Linked DNA regions of Homo sapiens: all the other regions are linked to region 2. Evidence: promoter capture Hi-C in human tissues and cell types (Jung and others, 2019). All regions are on one chromosome and are shown on one strand. Each heading gives the region's core, a stretch centred on a gene start or on the middle of the fragment in contact. The rest is flanking DNA. Distances are from core to core; before and after follow the strand shown.

What was found. The method cuts DNA at HindIII sites, captures the fragments that hold promoters and counts their contacts. A contact is called where the count stands out against the background at its distance.
Region 1: a contact is called between a fragment that was not itself captured here and the fragment with the promoter of CSTB in region 2, in 1 of the 25 tissues and cell types used here (dorsolateral prefrontal cortex).
Region 3: a contact is called between the fragment with the promoter of RSPH1 here and the fragment with the promoter of CSTB in region 2, in 1 of the 25 tissues and cell types used here (dorsolateral prefrontal cortex).

What each region holds. Positions count from the first base shown.
Region 1 is chr21:42,233,439-42,236,138 of GRCh38, reverse strand. All of the region lies in intron 2 of ABCG1 (ATP binding cassette subfamily G member 1), which reads right to left. Among named protein-coding and RNA genes, the nearest start is that of ABCG1, 16 kb to the right of the region's middle. RefSeq lists silencers at 1,143-1,212, 1,223-1,422. The HindIII fragment of the contact is 6,850 bases long and covers 1-2,700 here.
Region 2 is chr21:43,774,858-43,777,557 of GRCh38, reverse strand. It overlaps CSTB (cystatin B), which reads left to right and starts at 1,250. Exons shown (of 3, transcript NM_000100.4): 1 at 1,250-1,354. The coding sequence starts at 1,289. RefSeq lists a silencer at 672-1,671. The HindIII fragment of the contact is 5,981 bases long and covers 1-2,700 here.
Region 3 is chr21:42,494,799-42,497,498 of GRCh38, reverse strand. It overlaps RSPH1 (radial spoke head component 1), which reads left to right and starts at 1,275. Exons shown (of 9, transcript NM_080860.4): 1 at 1,275-1,366. The coding sequence starts at 1,313. It overlaps RSPH1-DT (RSPH1 divergent transcript), which reads right to left and starts at 960. Exons shown (of 3, transcript NR_135518.1): 1 at 834-960; 2 at 566-676; 3 at 56-266. RefSeq lists silencers at 929-1,168, 1,199-1,318. The HindIII fragment of the contact is 9,831 bases long and covers 1-2,700 here.

The DNA.
Region 1 (2,700 bases), core at 135-2,634, 1.5 Mb after region 2:
AACCCCACCCTGGCCACTTTTCAGTGCTGACCCCAGAGAAGGCTCAGACATGCTTGGATCAACCCCAGGAGGCCCTGGCTCCCTTACAGCTTCACCCCACACTGTCAGCTAAAAACAAAACCAGCACGTTTTATAAGGAATCAAAAATCAACTGTCTCCTAGGAAAATTGTGCCACCTGAAGTAAAGACCTGTAAATCAAAAATAAAATTCAAAGGCCCCCTGAACCATGGGGATGGACTCCCTCCTTGGCCAGGGCACTCTAAAATTTCCCCTGAAAGACTGGTTCAGGCCATGACGGGAAGTGGCGGTCCGTCTGACATGCCTTATCGTAGCCTGTAACATTAACATCAACACAGACCTTAAGTCTGATACGAAGCATTTACAGTCTGTTCTCTCTCAAGCCTGCTGCCTGGAGGCCTCATCCGCATGATACAACCTAGGTCCCCACAGCCCCGTATCGTAACCCAGACATCCCTTTCTATCGATAATAACTTAACCAATTAGAAAAAAATTTAAATTTACCTATAACCTGGAAGTCCCCCTTTGGGCTGTCCCACCTTTCTAGACGGAACCAATGTACATCTTAAATATTGATCACTGTCTTACGTCTCCCTAAAAGTATGAAACCAAGCTGTTCCCGACCCCTTTGGGCACGTGTTCTCCTGGTCTCCTGAGGCTGTGTCACGGGCCATGGTCACTCAGGATAAATCTCTTTAAATGTTTTAGTTTGACTCTTTTCGTGGACACACCTCTCTGATTTAAACTGGAGTCTGGAAGATTCCCGCAGTCCCCCGACGCAGCTGAAGCCACAGGGGCGCAGACTCCACACACCCGCGGGCCGTTCCCCTGCGGACACCACACCAGCATTTGAGCGCCATTTCCATTCCCGGGGTCTCCCAGTCACCGCTCAAGCCTGAATGGAGCGCAGGCCGCCCCGGGTGGCAACACCTCCACCCTCAGGTCCACACTGGCGACCCTTCCTACTGCCAGCGCTCTCAGGCTTCCTGGACCGGTGTTCCTGGACCTGGGGAGGAGAACACCAGCACGCGCGGGGCGCCGGGATTTGCATGGCCCGGGTGATCCCCTATGCATAGGGCCGCCCCTGTCCCAGGGAGGCTGCGACCCCGCTCGGGGCTGCAGCTGCCTCCTCGCGCTTGGCAACAGCGCGGGGCGCCCGCAGCCAATCGCGCCGCTCCCCGCGCCGCCGCTCCGCCGCGGAGGTTACTAGCGAGCGTTGACCGGTAGTAACCCCGGCGCGGGCGGTGGCGGCGGATGGGCGGGCGCTGCACACGCGCGGCAGCGCGCACCCGCCCCGCCCGCACCTGCGCGCGCGAGGGGCTCCGGCAGCGCTGTTTTCTCCCGGGCGTTGAGCTCGGGCAAGAGCGCGAACGTCACCCTGCGTCCACAGGCCTGCAGAGTCAGCACCTGCACCAGCCAGAGAAAGGACGGGCTTTTTTACTCAGTATGGAGAGCCTGCGTTAGAGCTGACACTTAGTGGGCAGAGCCCGGCCTTCCGGGAGCCTGCACATCACCACGGGCCAGGATGAATCCCGCCCTGGGAGGGAACGTCTGGGTGGAGGCCAGGTGGCCTGATAACCCCAGGGCCAGGGTGGGCAGAGGTGTCCAGTGCAGCCCCCAGCCAGGTGCGGGGAGCTCCAGACAAAGGACAGAGGCCAAAGATGCCCCCATACCTGCATCCATGAAAGAATTCCCGGAACACGTGCCCCAGGAGGAGGAGAGGCCTTTTGTAGCTCCTCATTGTCAGCAGGGTTTGGGGTTTATGTCTTGGGTAAGGAAAACTCAACCCAGCTTATTTTATTATCTGGGTCTGAGCGATTGCAAAGAGATGAGTTCTCAGTGGCGCTTATAGAGGCAGGGAGTTGGGACTCCAGGTGTTAAGTCCAGTCCTGGACCTGCCCCCTACCTGCCAGCGGTCCTGGGCAGGCCCTCGTTCCCCCTCCACCCTCCTTCCCTTCTGGAGAAGATGCCCATACTGATGTGTGTCCCATGCTGCTCCCCAAAGGCTTAATGAGGCAAAGCGCCAAATAAAGCAAACACGATTTGCTCAGTAAACACCAGTTATTTTTAATTAAAACAACAACAACAAAAAAAAACACTTCTCCCAAAACAGTGGGAGGAGAGAAATAACAACTGAGAAATCCCATAAAAACTCCTGCCAAAAGGTTCACTTTCAAGACAGGCAGTTGAGATATCAGAGAGGGGGACTTTTTTGGTTGGAAGGCACCAAGTTGCCTTATAACAGTAAAAGAAACAGAAAGAACGTGACTCAGGTTCTGCCCTTCCAGCGGGTTCCACCCTTATCAGTTTACAGACAGCAAGAACCTTCCAGCAGGGGCGCCTGCCCACTGACCTGCACCCTGCGGATGCCGCAGTGATGCCCACCTCCCAAAGCAGGACTCTGACCTCATTTCCTGCAAGGGCCATGTGCTTCTTATTTCCTCCTCTCAAGGTAGCTCTGGATTGTAATGTATTTGGTTATTGTTCTGTACTTGGCTGGGCTTTTCCCCTTGATTTGTGAGCTTATTTCAAGACCAAGATTAACTTGGTCTACGGAGTTTCAAAAAACAGAACCTGGATCCACAAATGAACATTGCTCAAATACAGATTGCAGCTCAACAGACAGAAGCATTTTCTAAGAATGAGGGTTGTGCAAACATAGCCCGGCTGCCTGGGAGGTG
Region 2 (2,700 bases), core at 1-2,500:
TTCCAGCACTTTGGGAGCCCGAGGCAGGTGGATCACGAGGTCAGGAGTTCGAGACCAGCCTGGCCAATATGGTGAAACCCCGTCTCTACTAAAAACACAAAAATTAGCTGCGCATGAAGGCGCGCGCCTGTAGTCCCAGCTACTCGGGAGGCCGAGGCAGGAGAATGGTGTGAACCCCGGAGGCGGAGCTTGCAGTGAGCCGAGATTGCGCCACTGCACTCCAGCCTAGGCGACAGATCCAGACTCCGTCTCAAAAAAAAAAAAAAAAAGGCCGGGCGCAGTGGCTCACACCTGTAATCCCAGCACTTTGGGAGGCCAAGGCGGGTGGATCACAAGGTCAGGAGATCGAGACCATCCTGGCTAACACAGTGAAACCCCGTCTCTACTAAAAATACAAAAATTAGCCAGGTGTGGTGGCGGGCGCCTGTAGTCCCAGCTACTCGGGAGGCTGAGGCAGGAGAATGGCGTGAACCCGGGAGGCGGAGCCTGCAGTAAGCCGAGATCGCGCCACTGCACTCCAGCCTGGGAGACAGAGCGAGACTCCGTCTCAAAAAAAAAAAAAAAAAAAAAAAAAGAAAAGAAAAGGAAAGAAAGAAAAGAAATCCTAAAACGCAAATTCCACCAGAGAACCCTGCCTTCTTCTCATCCCTCTGATCTACCCCCTGCCCCCACCCAGCCTGGAGCGCGTGGGCGCCGTCTCCCCCTCCCTGGGCCCCTCTGTCCACCCCCTTCAGCCTTCAGTGTTCTCGGTCACAAGCGGTGATGTCCACTGCAGCCCGCACACCTGCTCCCGCGGGGCCGGGACCCCTGACCCCTGACCCCTGCAGCGCTGCGCCCCGCCCTCCCTCGTGCGCGGCCCGGACCCCGCCACCCTGCAGGATTGCGCCTACTCCGACTGCCCCTTCCCTATCGTCCCACCCTGCGCGCCCAACCCACCGGCGACACCCGGCCGCGCCCCCGCCCCGGTCCGTGTGACTCGGCGCCCGGAAAGACGATACCAGCCCCGGGAGGGGGGCGCTCCCTCCCGACACCAGCGCTGGGCGCGGAGACCCAGCCTGCGGCGAGTGGTGGCCAGGTTCCCCGCCCCGCGCCCCGCCCCGCGCCCCGCCCCGCGCGTCCCTTCTTGCGGGGCCACCGCGACCCCGCAGGGGACTCCGAAGCCAAAGTGCCTCCTCCCCGCCCCTTGGTTCCGCCCGCGCGTCACGTGACCCCAGCGCCTACTTGGGCTGAGGAGCCGCCGCGTCCCCTCGCCGAGTCCCCTCGCCAGATTCCCTCCGTCGCCGCCAAGATGATGTGCGGGGCGCCCTCCGCCACGCAGCCGGCCACCGCCGAGACCCAGCACATCGCCGACCAGGTGGGTGGGCCGCGGGGACGGGGCCGGCCCGGAGTCCTGCCTTAGCCTCAGGGCGCGGCCGCGGCTCCTGGAGCGAAAGAAGCCGCTTTGGCCCCGCTGCGCACCCCTGGGCTGGCCCGGGCTGTGGCCGTGAGAGGCCTCCCTCCGCTCGGGCGCTGCGCGCGAGTGAGCAGCGGGGGGCCGCGCCTGGGGCGCCGCTGGGGAGACATTGGGCTCCGCTGAATACAGCAAGGGCGAGTGGGAATTGATAGCCCGGAGCAGGGTGCGGTCCCTGCATGGACAGTCTCTGAGAGGAAACCCCAGGGATGAGGCGCTTCTGGTTTCAGGCAGGCAGGGTGATCGGGCGTCGCCGGCGATGGCGCAGGTGAGCAGCCGGCTCCGATCTCCACGGTGATCCGATAGCAAGCGGGTGGGAAGGGTCTGGCTAAACTGACTTAGCCAGGCTTCTTGCTAAAAGTGGATTTTACAAGGAAGTGCGCAGGTGGCCTAGGCGCTTCAGGAGCCCGACTACAGTTTGGCCAAGCAAGAATCTTTGTCAATATCCTCATCTAGTTCGGGAAAAAAATCATGAGAGAGAGTGCAAGAGGTCCCCAGTGATAAGGCACATGGGTTAAAAACTTAAGTGTATCTGCATAAAAGGTCCACAGGTTTCTTTACATGCTTCCGATTCTAGCACTGTTTCAAACTGTAAGTCTAAATAAAAAGTTAAAACACAGAAAAACAAGATAAAAACCGGGCTGGGTTGCAGATGGCAACCTTCCCTGTGTCTCGGTTTCCTCGTCTGTAAAATGGACGTCCTGTTGCTCTGCGCCTGCCAGAAGATTCTGGAGGGGCTGAAATGAGCAGGTCATCTGTGCAAGAAGCCCCCTCCGGTGGAGCACAGGCCAGGCCCGCCTCGCTGTCATGGTTGGTGACCGACGGGATGCCCCAAGCAAGAACAGGTCCAGGCGATGCTGAGGCCTGTGTTTTTTTTTTTTGTTTTTGAGACTCAGTCTCACTCTTGCCCAGGGTGGAGTGCAGTGGCACAATCTCGGCCCACTGCAACCTCCGCTTCCCAGGTTCAAGGGATTCTCCTGCCTTAGCCTCCCGAGTAGCTGGGATTGCAGGTGCTCGCCACCACGCCCAGCTAATTTTTGTATTTTTAGTAGAAACGGGGTTTTGCCATTTGGCTAGGCTGGTCTCAAACTCCTGACCTCAAGTGATCCGCCCACCTCAGCCTCCCAAAGTTCTGGGATTACATCCTTGAGCCACCGTACCCAGCTGGAACTGTTTTTTTCTACTTTATTATTAGGCTGACAGTTTAAATGTCCCTTCAGTTGTAAGAGACAATTGTGTGAAGAGCCAGT
Region 3 (2,700 bases), core at 26-2,525, 1.3 Mb after region 2:
TTTACAACATTTTTATCTTTGCATCTAAAAAACGACATAATTTTGGAATCTCGTGTGTTGTTGTAACTTGTGTATTTATTCAGTAAGTAATATATTTGGGCCTGATGATGGGTTATGGTTGTAACCTTTCATATTAGCATTGGGAAGAATCTCTAGGGGATGTGTGCTCTGGAAGATCAGCAGCTTATTCACCGCGTGGATTTGGCTTCTGGGATTCTCCCATCAAGACCAAATCCTATAGTTATTCAGTCACTCCTCCCCAGCTCCTGCAGCAACAACAAATAACACAGCTTTGCAGTCTGGGATGATGGCAGAGGAAATGGGAGATGTGAGGGGCCTTCGGCAGGCGGAGTGCGTCAGGTAAAGCAGATTTCCAAGCCTGCACGTGTACATGCGTGTGCGTCTGTGATTGTGTGGGTGTGTGACAGTGTAGGGGAGCCAGGAGCGAGAGGAGAGGACGGCGATCGTAGGGGACACCTGAGAGTCAGAGGCCCGAGGGGGCTGGGACTCATGTCGAGGTCGGGGAAGGATGTAAAACCCGGACGGACATCACTGTAGGCCGCACCTGCTGAGAGGCCAGAGCTGCCTCCTTGAGAGTGAAGTTGTTTACAGACAAGAGAAGAGATCTTGGCGGACACATCACAGCTAGCCGCGAATCCCGAAGGGTCAGCAGAGCCTAGAAAGGTAAGTGGGGGTGGGCAGCATCCCCGGAGGGGCCTGCGAGGCCTGGGGGCGGAAGGGAGCGGGCAGTGCCCGCACTGGGCAGGGGTGAAACCCTCTCGAGAGTTGGCCCGGACGCGTTTCCCGCGTCCTTCCTCTTGAGGGCCCAGTACCCAGGTGGCTCCTCGTTGTGGCGTCACAGAACAGCCGACAAAAGTGATGGATTTCAGGGGCCAGCGACGGCGAGGTCCAGGTCAGAGAGCCGGTGGGCAGCCAGGCACAGAACCCGCTCAGGCCCTGCCCAGTCCCCGCCCCCTCGCTTCCCGAGCAGTGATTGGCCGAAGCGGCCCCTCGTTGCTATGACGGCACCAGAGTGCTGCCACTGGCTCCACCTCGTCCCTTCCGCCCCGCCCCTCCGTATTCCCGGGCGGTGATTGGTCGAGGTGCCCTTCCCGTTGCTATGACAGTACGCAAAGGCTGCCAGTGGCTCCTCCCGCTTCGTCCGCGTCGCCTGTCCCCGCTCCCCATCTTCCGGGCTGGGAGGGAGGCGGGACCGGCCGCGTCTCCATGGCGACGCGGGACGCGGCGGTGGAGGCGGTTGCTACCCACCTGCTAGAGGCGCTGCGGCTGTGATCCAGGCTGGGGCGAGACCATGTCGGACCTGGGCTCGGAGGAGTTGGAGGAGGAGGGAGAGAATGATATTGGGGTGAGAGCTCCTGGTGAGAAAGGGCTTCCCAGGGTGCGCAGCGGCGGGGGAACCTCGAGGTTGGGTTTGGAGAGTGAGGAGGCGCAGAAACCAGAGGTCTGAGCCACAGCTCCCCAGGATCCCCGGCAGGGACGAAGGCCACGCCAGACACACCTGCGTGCGTCCTGGAAGTTGATGGTGAAAAGTGAAACGCTGTGACGTCTGGTTACCACATGCCGCCTCGTTCTTCCCCCACCCCCATCCTGCCTCCCATTAAAGGCAAAGATTTCCCAGCGGAAGGCTTTGGAAGTTTCCTCCTCCCTGTGTTAATTCCCATCGAGGCAGTTTTCTCGGATGAGCAGATCATCCCACGCTGCCATACTGCCCTTGAATAAGTCATTTCTGTAGCTGAGATTTGCTCCCCCGGCATTTAGATGCATGGAGGATAGTTGCTTCCTGGCAGCCTCCAAGAAATGCTGAGGAGGCCCTGGGCTCAGGAGAGGGTTCCTGAAGATATTACCTTATAGGCGTATCCTCACATGTGCTTTCTTCAGTCCCCATCTGAACTGACCCAGGTCTTTGGAGTTATTTCCTGAGTTAGGCAGCAGAGAGGAGAAAGAGGGCACATCCAGCCTGTGAGCTGGGTTCTGTGTGGGAATATTTCTATCACCCAGAGAGTAGTTCCTCCCTACTCCAGAGAGTGACCTCTCCATGGCTGACAGATAGGGAACCTCAGCCACTATGGTCTGCATGCACAGTACAGAGTTGAGGTACTTTCAGAATTAACTGAAAAATCTAGCGACTCTGCAGTGGTGCTGTCAGTGCCTGCCCAGACCTTTTTGCTAGCTCTGGGCACTCATCTCCCAGCTTCCGCCTGATTTGCTACTCAAGCTATCACCTCTGTGCGCTGGAACTACCTGCCCAGTATGGAGAGCCAGAAGTGCCTGAAATTCACATCCGGCCAGACAGCCAGTAGCTAGTGCAAGAAGCAGGACAAAGTCTGCAGTGCGATTGATGCCCCCAGAGTCCCTGTTGGATTAGGCCAAGTCTGGGACTTCACCTGCAAAGGCATCCTTCCTTAGCTGCCTGCCCTTTCATGTCTACTTCCCTGCCCTCTTTACTACTTTCTCCCAGGAGAGCACTTAAAAAAATCAGGCCAGGCGCGGTGGCTCACACCTGTAATCCCAGCACTTTGGGAGGCCGAGGTGGGCAGATTGCCTGAGCTCAGGAGTTTGAGACCAGCCTGGGCAACACGGTGAAACCCTGTCTCTACTAAAATACAAAAAATTAGCCGGGCATGGTGGCGGGCACCTGTAATCCCAGCTACTCGGGAGGCTGAGGCAGGAGAATGGCTT